Regions from separate parts of the Homo sapiens genome. Here region 1 is linked to region 2. The links are contacts of gene promoters, found by promoter capture Hi-C in blood cells and fetal thymus (Javierre and others, 2016). All regions are on one chromosome and are shown on one strand. Each heading gives the region's core, a stretch centred on a gene start or on the middle of the fragment in contact. The rest is flanking DNA. Distances are from core to core; before and after follow the strand shown. Region 1 overlaps DYNLT1 (dynein light chain Tctex-type 1). Region 2 holds the start of TCP1 (t-complex 1).

Region 1 (6,505 bases), core at 2,983-5,482, 1.2 Mb before region 2:
AAAGGCTAAGATAATTTACAGGTTACCAACTCATGTGGGGAAGGTCTTACTGCCATGGTGCTTTTCAGGGGCCTGTGTGTACACACATGATTAAATGGATTTGCCTGTGGGAGGTATGGGCAGGAGAGGAACCCTTACCATTCCAGTAAATAGCAGTTTCTGCAATTCTGTTGAATATGAAATGCCATAGAGCTTTATTTATTTATGTAAGTAAAAGCTAAATGAGGGGCCAGGTGCAGTGGCTCACATCTGTAATCTCAACACTTTGGGAGGCCAAGGTGGGAGGATCACTTGAGCCCAGGAGTTTGAGACCAGCCTGGGCAACACAGGGAGACCCCGTCTCTATAAAACATTTAGAAAGTTGGCTGGGCATGCTGGGGCATGCCCATAGTCCCAGCTACTCAGGAGGCTGAGGTGGGAGGATTGCTTGAGCCCTGGAGGTCAAGGCTGCAGTGAGCCATGATTGCACCACTGCACTCCAGCCTGGGTGTCAGAGCGAGAACCCGTGTCATAAATAAATAAAGCTACATGAAAGATTGATAGAATATTTTAGATTATTTATTGGCCAAAAGTTTTTAAAACTCATATTTGGAAGCAAAATGAAAAGCAAGTAAAATGTTTTAAATGGTTCATGGAAAACGTATTTGGGTAGAAGGCAACTCGTGCTTCCGGAAGGGGTTCCCTGTCCTCCATGTGTCCACATGGCGGTCAGGTAGGGACGACCTGTTCTGTAAAGTCCTTGGCACTGCTGAATCTGTGGCATCATAGAAGGCCCTGGAGCTTCCCCGTTCCTTTCAGTCAGGGACTCCATATAGAGTCTCATGTGGACGTCTCCCGTGCTTTCCTCTTGACCTCTACAGTCACACTTCTGTTAACATCTGGTAACTGTGGGCAACCTGACTGATGCCGTCTTGGCAATTGAGGTCCAGAAGATGATAGTTCCGCAACGCAAGCAGTACCTACTTTTTTTCTTCATCTATGCATTGACTCTCAGATTACCATGCAGAGCTTCACGTTATCATCCACGTTAAGTAGTGCTAGGTAGGACCTTAGAGATGTTCATGAGAAACTATTTGTTATGACTTTCCTTTGTATCTTTCCTTTTAATTTAAACTTTAATGATAATGTACTTTTAATATGGATTCTATTCACATTTGTTTTAAAAACCTTGTAAATATGAATGTTTAAGACAACTTACTGCAAGGGTAATTCAAGTTTACATGATTTTTAAATTTGCAATGATGTTTTTTTTATTCTGTGTATTGAAAAAAATTTTCTGTTACCAAATTTTACAACTTCTAATAAGACTACTATAACTTTATGTAAACTGATGAAGATGTGCTGATTAACATATTCTGTGATATGGTTTACAACTTTTAATCATAATTGTCCATGATTTTGGAATGCTGTTATTTATCAGTAAATGTAAAATATTTGAGGCATTTAGCCATACACACACTAGAACTTTTTAAAACTTTGTCCTATAGTGTAATTATAAACTGATGACTATTATCTTCATACATTGAGTCTTCATGCATCAATGAAATGAAAAATATAGGATTATTTATTTACTTTTTGTAACTAAGTGGGAAATAAGAAAAAAAGTTAGAAAGTACTTAAGGGGAAAATCGTTCTTACTAAGTCATGTATTTTCAACTTGTCTTCCCTGGTATATCATAAATACCGACATATTACATACCCCATGTAAAATTTTGCTTAAACTCTCTAGCACTTGGCATGTAGAATATGTACCATAGGTATCAGGTTAAAACACTAAAGTCTGCCAGAAACTTTTGACAGTAGCAAGAAAATTGTTGAAGAAAAAATAAATTATTTACTGAGGGTAGTTATGTTAAAGTTTTGCGAACTTAAAGGGCTGACTTTAGTTCCTTCATGGTAATGGCTTGAGTAACATCATCTTTGGGATTTTTTAAATACTGGTCCAGTCTAGGAGAACCTGGAAGATGACCAGAGGTATTTCAGTTTCCCTAGGGAGAGCTTCGTTATCCATGTGGATGATAAGTCTGCTTGATTTATTATTAAATCATTATAGCAGTGAAGTGGTGCCATTTTCTCTCTCTTAAGCCCCATTTGAAAGGCTAGAGAAGGGGATATATATACTATGTTCAAGGTTTGTAAGGTTGTTAATGTACATAATTGCAGATTGCAATAAAAGCTTAGATACATTTTGTAAACCCAACCCACTAAATGAGCAGGTTACAAGACAAATGTCACCAGCCTCAAGTATTTTATGAACTATTTACTGAGGGTAGTTATGTTAAATAGATTATAATGTGGTAAATTATTTCCTGAATCCTTTATCACAGGAAAAACACAGACCCTCATAAAAGGGATAATTAAAACGGATGTGTCTGAACATTTAGTGAAGATGAGACTTAAAACATGAAAGTGTATTTGTGTATTTTGAGGGTTTTAGAAACCGGTTGCCTTAGAGGTTAGACTTTTGAAGAAAAAAAAAAAAAGATACAGATCTTTTCCCCTGGCCAAAGGGAAGTTGTATTAGTCTGTGACATCTTGTGATGCTGTTTATCTTGGTTTGACATTGGAGATACGCTAGTAACTGTGATACCATACTATAAAACAGAAGAATTTTCTGCTACTAAAAACTGCCTTTTTACAAAATGACTGTAAATATTTGTAAAATAAAATAACACTAAACTTTAAGCCCAAAAGGAGAGATAGAGCCATGTGTTCAGTTGTGGACCTGTCCGTGGGGCACAGTGCCACCCCATCACAGTGTTGCTGTCATCAGGCAAAAGTGAATGTTTGTTTATGGCAAATTCGTCTTTTGCGAATGGCTTAATTCTGACACTACCTTTCTGGGAAATGTTAATAAATTTTTAATATTCACTTCTATGTGTCTTGATTTGTTTGCTCTTTGTGTGTGGAGTTAATTTGGCCTTGCAGACATAAATGCTTTAATAAAGCGGCTTTGGAGACAACGGCAGGGCTTTTCCATTTCAGCAGGCAGGCACGGAGGTATCTTTATTGCCATGTCTAATGTGGCCTGGGGAAGAGCACTCAAGATGGAGACAAGGCGTGGGTTTGGGCCCAGCTCCCAACTTGGATGTGTGACTTTAAACCAATCAGATAACCTCCAAACACATTTTCTGAGATTTTTAAATGACTGCAAATTGTTGAAGACACAGAATGAATGATTGTGAAAACCATTTTGTAAGCTCTGAAGTACTAAGACAATTTGTGAGCCCTACAGAGAACACAGGATTAACAGTTAAGGTGTTACAGCTTTGGGCCAAGTGTGAGTTAGAGCTCTCTGGCTAAGAGAATAGAAATTGGTTTGCCCACCTCCCACCCCTTCACCTCTAGAAGAGGAGGGCTTAAGAATGGGAGGTGTGATGCCGAGGGGTAGGAATCTAACCAGAACCCAGCAGAGCCGTCAGGATCCTGGTCCCACGGGTAAAATGAGTACATCATGGAGAGGACCACAGCAGAACTTTTTTTTTTTTGGTTGTATATATATATATATATATTTTTTTTTTTTTTTTTTTTTTTTTTTTTTGAGGCGGACTCTTGCTCTTGTCACCCAGGCTGGAGTGCAGTGGCGGGAACTTGGCTCACGATCTTGGCTCACTACAACCTCTGCCTCCTGGGTTCATGCCACTCTCCTGCCTCAGCCTCCCGAGTAGCTGGGACTACAGGCGCCCGCCACCACACCTGGCTAATTTTTGGTATTTTTAGTAGAGACGGGGTTTCACCGTGTTAGACAGGATGGTCTTGATCTCCTGACCTCATGATCCGCCTGCCTCAGCCTCCCAAAGTGGTGGGATTACAGGTGTGAGCCACTGCGCCTGGTCTGGTTGTATAGATTCTGTAGCCACTCACTATGAAGAAATCGTTTATGATACTATGCAGACTATGAAGAACACAACAGACTTTAGATTTGAATAATTTATTCTAACAAAAGTATAAAGTATGGAAAATTAGTGTATTTGAATCATTTCAGAGAGTAGAGCAAGTTTCACACTAGCAGATTTCAGATTTTAGCACCTTTGAAATGAAATATTCAGAGTTAAGACAAGTGGCAACGCAGGCTGCAGGTGACCTACAGGGATACTCATCTGACTTCGGTGCCATTCACATCACAGTGCGGTCATTTGGTTTTTTCCTCTACATTGTGAAAGTGCCACAAAACAAAGAGAATGAGAAAAGAGTTCACTGAATTCATGGCTGGTGGTTAGAGGATGAACTAGAGACAAAAGGAGAAAGGCCATAGGCTGGACTGCAGGTCAAATAGACAGTCCGAAGGCACTGACGATGCAGTACATGGTCTTATTCTCCCATCGCACAGTGCAGCTCCCTGCGGGAGGGAAGAGAGCAGCATTTACGGCAGGGAAAGCTGGGGGACGACGTTTTACTCACAATAAGGCCAACATTCAAGTACCCATCTCTATGCTACACAAAGAACCTTGGCAAGTCTATTATTAAATGTTTTAAAAGGTGATAAACATGCATTGCATTCAAAGATAGGAAACTTCCAGTCATATATTTCACACAACAAAACTTCACAAACATGAATGAAAATCATACCGTCAGTAGAGCTGTCCCAGAAGCAGGAACTTGCTGTGTGTAATCCAGCTCCATTCTTCTGCATAATTACACAGGTCACTTAAGTTAAAACAAATTTTTGTTAGAGAAGTCTACTGGGTAACACAAATGTCATTCTGTCCACTTTTAGCAAACGTACAATGTATGTAGCTCCACGTGGTTGATGTTCTCGATAAAAATTATAGGGACAGATTGCCTTGTCTCACTATATTGACAAATTATAGGTGCTCCTTGACTTACAACATCCCATAAACCCATCATAAATCAACAATATATGAAAATGTAAGTTGCAAATGCACTTAATACCCTGGTAAATCCATCAAAGTTGAAAAATTCTAAGTTGAGCCACTGTCAGCTGGGGGCTGTCCACACTTCCTCTATGCTTCACTTGTTCTAAAAGCATCTGATGGGACCTCCTGTAAGATCCCGCTTCACATACGATCTGCAATTGTACCAGCAGCCAAATGGTCAAGCGTACGCTAACGTATACTACACACACGACCGACTCCCACCAGGAGCCTTCCTTGAGTTGAGCCACGTTAGCTGTTGTTTCTGGTACTGGATGCCCCTCTGATCAGTGTTAAAAAACCATCCCGCAAATATAAAAGAAACAAGACTCCATTACCGATGTATTTAAATGGTTTTCCCAGCTTGGTGAGTTGGCTTAAAGTTTGTTCTACTACATTTGTGGTCCACTGGTTCACTTTGCTGTGTTGATAAGCGTTACCACCAATTGCGCTTTCTATAGCCTAGAAAACAAAGCACAAAGCGCGTCCCGGTTAACCAAATGCACCCACACCACCTTTCAATCAGGAACTGACGGCACCCCAAGAAGTGATTTATGAAAAGTTTATTTTTAATCATGAGGGTGCCTTTGCAAATATACTTTTAATAGCATTATATTTCATTTAAATAAGTTTGAAATTTGCTTCAAAAATTCATAGTCTGTCAAATTATTTACACATTTTGACCTAATAATCACATTTCATGTTCACTACTATTAATACATTTTTTTTCCTGTTGAGGCTAGAAAGTATTTTGCCTATTCATTTCTTAAAAGTATATTACTTTTATCTACTACTACCTAACATACACTAATACTATATATTAGATGAATTGTATTTGTACAACTGACAATATACAAAGCTATCCAAATAATCATATATTAAAAAATACTTTTATCCAGCATTGTCTGAGAACATGTTACCACATTAAGTGCATTTTTCAGATAACTAAAAGCCCTTTATATTCCAAAACTTATTTTAGGTTTATGATGAGATTTTTTTATTTTTACTTTTCTGAGGCAGGGTGTCATGTTGCCCAGGCTGGAGAGCAGTGATGGAATCTTGGCTCACTGCAGCCTTGACCTCCTGGGCTCAAGCAATCCTCCCACCTCAGCTTCCCTCCTGGGCTCAAGCAATCCTCCCACCTCAGCTTGTCCAGTAGCTGGGACTGCAGGCATGTGCCACCACGCCTGGCTAGTTTTTTGTAGAGATGGGGTCTTGCTCTGTTGCCCAGGCTGCTCTCAAATGCCTGGGCTCAAGTGATCCTCCTGCCTCAGCCTCCTAAAGTGCTGGGATTACAGGCATAAGCCACAGCACCCAGCCCAACTTTTTTTCTTTATTATACGTTTACTTCTTTATCTATGCTGTATTCTTTGGGGGTTATCTGACAATGCAAGCTCATTGTCGCTGCTCTTGCTAAGCTTATCATTATGATATTGCCATTGTATGATTTTCTGAGTTTTTCATTGTCAGCTCCCCTTTCACATGGATGCCAGTGTGCTTGCATCTCAGCAACTTTATTCTCTACCCCTAACTTGCTGTGCTGGAAACCAGGAACCTGAGTTTCTATGACAGTTATGACCTAAAGTGAAAATAACAACATTCAGTGAGGGCCAAGGTCTGTCCTCAGACAG
Region 2 (6,845 bases), core at 93-2,592:
CAAATCTGTGTTAATTATTTAAAAACCACCTACTAAGAGTGTAAATGGGGCCAGACACTGTGGCTCACAGGTGTAATCCCAACACTGCGAGGCCGAGGCAGGAGGATCGCTTGATGCCAGGAGTTTGAGACCCCTTTGGGCAACATAGCGAAACCCATTTCTACAAAAAATAAAAACAAAGCCGGATGCGGCGGCGCGGACCTGTGCTTGGAGAATGCAGTGAGCTATGATGGCACTCTCGTCTGGGCGACAGGTGGGACCCTGTCCCTAAACAAAGCGAGCCTATTTGGCACAGCTTTGATGCGGGGTGGAATCTGATGGCGGGGAAAAAAAAAAAAAGTAATAACCACCAATTTCATGCTCTGCCACTTCGTACAGCTATACCAGCCTTTTCCTTCAGATTCTGCAAGTTTTTTGCTCATTAAAACTCTCTTTATCTGTGAGGAGAGAAATCGGTAGTCAACGGGGAAGGTGGTGACTTTCAGATTTGTTTACGAAAAAAATTAGGAATCTATCAAGAAACAGTAAGCTCTGTAGGTATCCAAAGGCCTGACAGCAAACGCTCTGCTAAGTTAGCGCTGCCGTCTCCTGGGGTCAATGCACTCGAGTGGCGTTTCCTGGGCTAACTCTACTGTAAGAAGCTGTCAACCCGGATACGGCTGGACGCCGGACGCCCGACCTCGACTGCAGCTGCGGGCGGACAGGGCACCGGGCTCATCCGAGGGCGCGCGGATGGACCTACTCTTTTTCTGGTAAATGGTCCTAAAATAAAACCTGGCGTTTAACATGGACACTCAGGGGGTCGCCCTGAAACAAAAGGGGGTGCGAGGCGTGGCCCGCACGTGCGAGCCCGGGAGGCCCGCTTTCCCGCGGAGGGCGCGTTTCCAACGCCGCCCCGGACACCACATCCACGCGTTGCCGGTCTCAAAACCCTGCCGCGCGCGGCGGGGCTCCTCCTCGCTGTGGGAAAAGTGGGGCCACAGCGCCCTGCCCCAGAGAACGGCGGGTGGGCTGGGTCCGGCTGCGGGGCCCCGAGGCCCTTTCTGCGGAGGTAAAGGAGAGAAACGAGGGCAGCCGGGGTCCGGTCGCGGTGGGACTCGGCCCTCCCCGGCCGCAAACCCGACCCAGGCCCGGCCCGCCCTTACCGTTTTGGGAGCGGATCGTTTCCCCAGTGCTGCGGTCACCGAACACGGACAAAGGCCCCTCCATCTTGACGGCAGCGATACACGTCGAATTCTGCTTACACCGCGGGCAACCAGTATCGCGGCCCCTCGGCCGACCGGCGACCACAGCAGTGGCTGCGACGGCGTGGAGCGTACCCGAGCGATGTCCCAGGAGCTACTGGGTAACACACCACCCCACCCGCTTCCCGGCTGCCCCGGCCCGGCCGCGGGGCACGGCGGGAAGGAAAAAGAGGCAGGGACAACAGGGAGAGAAACAGGACTGTGACGGAAGTGAGGCTCCGGGGAAGGGGCGGGGTCGGCATTTTTGTCCAATTAGATAGCCGATGGGAAGGGCGCGAAAGCGGAGAACGGAAGTCGGATGTTGGACCGCTGGGAAGAGGTTGAACCTTCGCCTCAAACGATGTTGCGCAGACGCAGTGGGCCATTCTAGTGCCTTCTAGAAAAGGTTGTAAGAAGGGTGGAGCTTGGAGCTGGGGTGTAACTGGAGGGGCGGGCCCTTCTCCAAGTTAGAGTTGGGGTTCTGAGCGAGTCGTGCGTTTTAGGTTTAGTGTCTTTTCCTTGTCCCTGCTCGGGGAGCGTGAGGCAGATCGGCCGGCTTTGCTCCAGGCCTCAGGAGTGTAAGTTTAAGGGCGCGAACCTGGGTGGGACGGGGCAGTTTTTCCAGCGGGCCATACGGGAAAATTTTTGGTTCGAGGAAGACAACCACCCTTTTTAAGGAGAAAACTGCATCTTGCCCTGCCTTATTCCTACGCGGTGCCCAGGTGGGGTGTGTGTGGACCAGTCGATGACCGCCCAAGCTCTCCGAGTAGAAAACCCAAACATGGTTTTGTGGGGTGTGTGCCTTTGACCCCGGACTTAAGCAACAAGCGTGGTCTTGGGCGTAGCTACGAGGTGGTTGGTGGGCTCCAGGGCCTGCGTGCCCCTCGACGTGAGCGATGATTGGCGATGAAGGATAACAGATCGCCTTCTCGGCCACTCAGTGGCAGGGGACTTGCTACTTCCGGGTCGGTGGCGTCTGGCGTGGAGAGTTTGGGGATCTACAGCAGCCAAAGGCTTGTCCCTGACTTTATATGGCTGCTCCTGGCGAGCGACTGAGTCGTCCGTGAGGAAAAAGAGGCGAGGCTTTTCCGAGATCGTCTCAGCGATGGCGCTTCGGTCGCGGTTTTGGGGGTTGTTCTCGGTTTGCAGGAACCCTGGTAATTAGTCTTGCCCCCCTTCTCCCAGCTCACTCGCCTGGGCTTGCACAGTACATTGGAACGTGCGGGTTCTATTTTGTATTCGACGTGCCGGATCGAAATAGAGCTCGCGGCACTGCGAAGACCACAGTAGGAAGTTAAGGACGGGGTCAGTGCTGACTCCACCCTGTGGGCATACGTATTTTTCGTCCCCTCGGGCCTAAAGATTGGGGGTGTAAAAGCGGATAGACGTTAGAGCGGGTTCGTGCGCTGTCCATATCCGTCATTTTTAAGCCCTGTGCGGTTTTTCCCGTTGCCCAGGGTGCAGGTTCGCAGCCCTGTCAACCAGCTCCGAGCCGGCAGCGAAACCTGAAGTGGACCCTGTGGAAAATGAAGCTGTCGCCCCAGAATTCACCAACCGGAACCCCCGGAACCTGGAGCTTTTATCTGTAGCCAGGAAAGAGCGGGGCTGGCGGACGGTGTTTCCCTCCCGTGAGTTCTGGCACAGGTAATTAAATCTGCTTGTGATTGACAAGGGCAGTGCACCCTACAGACTATTTTCATTCATTCAACTCCAGGCACTCTCCCAGGTAGCTGCCATGCGGCGGGTAGAGGCAGGGTTCGCGGAGGGGCTGGAACAAACAACAAATAGGTGTGATGGGGGCTATTTAAAGAGGATGTTACAGTAGCGGACAGGATACCTGCCTGTCTGAGGTGACATTTAAGAAGGTGAGATCTGAAAGAGGAAGAAGCCTAGTCATCTGCCAGAAAGAGCAGTCCTAGCAAAGGAAACTGCTGGGGTGAGGAACTGAAGGGCTTGTGGATCTGAAGCTCAATGGGCAGAGGATGAATGGCCCAAGATGAACATGGAGGGGTAAGGAGGCGACAGATGATTAGCTTTGTAAGTCAAGATGAGCACTTTAGACTTTCTTTTCATTATAGTGGGAAACTACGAGAGGATTTAAAGCTTGAGCCCGAATTGGTTTTTCAAGATCATTCTGGCTGGGCGCATTGTCTCATGCCTGTAATCCCAGCACTTTAGGGAGCCAGCCGAAGAAGCCGGATCATCTGAGGTCAGGAGTTTGAGACCAACCTGGCCAACATGGTGAAACCCCGTCTCTACTAAAAATATAAAAATTAGAGGGGCGTGGTGGTGCACGCCTGTAATCCCAGCTACTCCAGTGGCTGAGGCACGAGAATCACTTGAACCCAGGAGGCGGAGGTTGCAGTGAGCTGAGCGCCTGGGCGACAGAGCAAAATTCTGTCTCAAAAAAAAAAAAATCATTTTAGCTGCTTTTTGGAAGATTAAATTTTTGAGGGAGCAGGACTTGAAGAAAGACCAGTTAGGAGTCTAGTATGACTTGAGATACTTTGTTATAAAGGTGGTTGTTTAATGAACACTTACATTTGCCAGGAATTATGCTACTTGCTTTATATGTTTTTTCTCATTTAATCCTTAAAATTACATCATGAAGCAGTTATAATTTCCCCCATTTTACAGGATCAAAGAAATTGAGGTTTAGGGAGACATGATTAGTAAGTGCCAGAGCTAAGATTTACATATGTTTTAACTGACCTCAGAGCCAGGACGCTAGGTTATTACCACTATACTACAGCATGTAAGTGTTTATCAGGTTTATCTGCTGCTTATCTGCTTGGTGAGGATTTTTTAGAATTTCTTAAGGACTTCTTAAGTACTATGTAAAGTTGTAAGAGTAAATTGGAAATCATTACTGTGTGATGTATTATTTATTTATTGAACAAGCATCATACCTGTATCACTTGCTAGGCATTGCGTTAGAGGCAGGAGTTACAAAGATAAAGTAGATGTTATCCCTGTCATCAAAAGTCTTAAGTTTCATAGTGGAAAGTGGAATGGGGATAATGATGTGTTACAGTTGCTGTAATACATTTTTACTCATAGAGGAGGGAGTCCAAGAAAGGGAGTAGGCAGTTCACTTTTTAAATAATCTGGATCTTAAGGCTAAAAATCTTTTGAAACACCCAACCTATTACTTTCTTTTTTCTTTGTTTTTGAGACAGGGTCTGGGTCTGTTGCCCAGGCTAGAATGCAGTGGTATGATATCTGCTTACTGCATCCTTGACTTCCCTGGGCTCCAGCAATCTTCCCACCTCAGCCTCCTGAGTGGCTGGGACTAGAGGCGCATGCCATTACTCCCAGCTAATTTGTTTTGTTTTGTTTGAGACAAGCTCTGGCTCTATCACCCAGGCTGGAGTGCAGTGGTACAGTATCAGCTGGCTGCAACCTCTGCCTCCCAGGCTCAAACGATTCTCCCATCTCAGCTTCCTGAGCATCTGGGACTGCAGGCACACACTACCATGGCCGGCTAATTTTTTTCTTTTTCTTTTTTTTTTTTTCTGGTATTTTTTGTAGAGATGGGGTTTTGCTGCTGCCCAGGCTGGTCTCGAGCTCTTGAGCTCGAGAGATCTGCCTGATTCAGCCTCCCAAGGTGCTGGGATTACAGACGTGAGCCACTGCACTCGGCCCCAACGCATTACTTTGATTTAATATTTGGATCATTAAAAATAACTAAAGATGTATTTCCTCATTTTTTCTCTGTCTGCCTTACTCGCAATATTAAAAGTAGAGAATTTCAGAATATTATAGTAGGAAATGACCTTTGACATAATGAATCGGGCCCTTCATTGAACAAATGGTTCAAGTGTCAGCAAACTACGGCCCGTGGGCCAAAGGTAGATTGTGAGCTAAAAACTTGTTTTTACTTTTTTTAAGTTAAAAAAAAAATCAAAAGAATATTTTGTGGCTTGGGAAAATTAAATGAAAATCAAATTTCGTTGCCCAGGTTCTTAGAACCTAGCTGTACCTACTCTCATTTGTTTACGCATCACCTGGCTGTTCTAGCACTACAATGGCTGAGTCGAACAGTTTCAACAGAAGCTATTGGACCTAGAAAGCCTAAAATATTTACTATCTGGCACTTTGTGGAAAAAGATTGTTGACTCCTGGTTTAACAGATTGTGATTTTTGGCCGGGCGCGGTGGCTCACGTTTGTAATCCCAGCACTTTGGGAGGTCGAGGCGGGCGGATCACGAGGTCAGGAGATCAAGACCATCCTGGCTAACACGGTGAAACCCCGTCTCTACTAAAAATACACAAAAAAATTAGCCAGGCGTGGTGGCAGGCACCTGTAGTCCCAGCTACTAGGGAGGCTGAGACAGGAGAGTGGCGTGAACCTGGGAGGCGGAGCTTGCAGTGAGCCGAGATCGCGCCACTGCACTCCAGCCTGGGCAACAGACTGAGACTCCGTCTCAAAAAAAAAAAAAGAGATTGTGATTTTTTACTAGAGCCACCAGGAAAACCAGGAGTAGACTCCATATTTCCAAATCTAATGCCTCTTCTATTTCACATTGAGAATCCTAGTGAGAATCTAATGATTTGGGTGTGTTTTCTTTAACTTAAACTTGACTTTTTAAAGGGTAACATATACGTATGTTATAAAATCCAAAGGGAGTACAGTTTCTTGTGTGTCCTTCTAAAGATTGTCTATGCATATAAGCAAAAACTGTTAAAAACAATAAATCTTAGCATACGATAAACACTTCCGCATCTTTCTTCACCACCACCCTCAACCACCCCAAGCACGCACTTAAAAATACATCTTGGAGATTCTTCATGGTAGTTAAGAGCATTGACTCTGGAGCCAGACACTGGGACTTAAACCATGGCTCCATTACTTACTAGTTTTAATCTTTTTCAAGTTACTTAACCTTTCTGTGTTAGTTTCTGCAGCTAAAAAAAAATATAGAAAAAATAATAGAATTGAGACATAAGCTTTATCTATAAACCGTTAAGACAGGCCTGGCATATACTAAGTGCTCAGTAAATGTTAACTATTATCTTCATCATTATAAAGCATTATTTCATTCATTTCAGTAACTGTATGGAATACTATTGCATGGATTTTACTTAACTCGCTCCTAGAGGGTGATTATCTTTTATGATTACAGTGTTGCATCGAATTGTCTTGTCCATGCATTTTGTTAGTGAGATTGAGCATATTTTTGTGAATTTGAGTCATTAATATTTTTCTTTTCTGTGAACAGTCTGTTTGGATAATGCTTTGCCTATTAAGTTATGAAGGGGTGGGTTGCCCCTCCTCACCTGTGGGTGTTTCTTGTTAGGTGGAACGAGAGACTTGGAAAAGAAAAAGACACAAAGTATAGAGAAAGAAATAAGGGGACCCAGGGAACCAGCGTTCAGCATATGGAGGATCCCGCCAGCCTCTGAGTTCCCTTAGTATTTATTGATCATTCGTGGGTGTTTCTCTGAGAGGGGGATGTGTCAGGGTCACAAGACAATAGTGGGGAGAGGATTAGCAGACAAACATGTGAACAAAGGTCTTTGCATCATAGACAAAGTAAAGAATCAAGTGCTGTGCTTTTAGATATGCATACACATAAACATCTCAATGCTTTACAAAGCAGTATTGCTGCCCGCATGTCC

What was found. The method cuts DNA at HindIII sites, captures the fragments that hold promoters and counts their contacts. A CHiCAGO score of 5 or more calls a contact.
Region 1: a fragment that was not itself captured here is called in contact with the fragment with the promoter of TCP1 in region 2 in 1 of 17 cell types (neutrophils); the score reaches 5.7 in neutrophils.

Annotation. Positions count from the first base shown.
Region 1 is chr6:158,632,559-158,639,063 of GRCh38, forward strand. It overlaps DYNLT1 (dynein light chain Tctex-type 1), which reads right to left. Exons shown (of 5, transcript NM_006519.4): 3 at 5,213-5,336; 4 at 4,570-4,647; 5 at 3,916-4,339. The coding sequence ends at 4,269. TMEM181 (transmembrane protein 181) reads left to right here. Exons shown (of 17, transcript NM_001376852.1): 17 at 1-2,871. Among named protein-coding and RNA genes, the nearest start is that of DYNLT1, 8.9 kb to the right of the region's middle. The HindIII fragment of the contact is 4,116 bases long and covers 2,175-6,290 here.
Region 2 is chr6:159,788,260-159,795,104 of GRCh38, forward strand. TCP1 (t-complex 1) reads right to left here and starts at 1,343. Exons shown (of 12, transcript NM_030752.3): 1 at 1,146-1,343. The coding sequence starts at 1,209. It overlaps MRPL18 (mitochondrial ribosomal protein L18), which reads left to right and starts at 2,208. Exons shown (of 4, transcript NM_014161.5): 1 at 2,208-2,380; 2 at 2,681-2,867. The coding sequence starts at 2,329. RefSeq lists enhancers at 541-1,205, 1,206-1,869, 2,126-2,305, 2,336-2,395, 6,708-6,845. The HindIII fragment of the contact is 4,019 bases long and covers 1-3,324 here.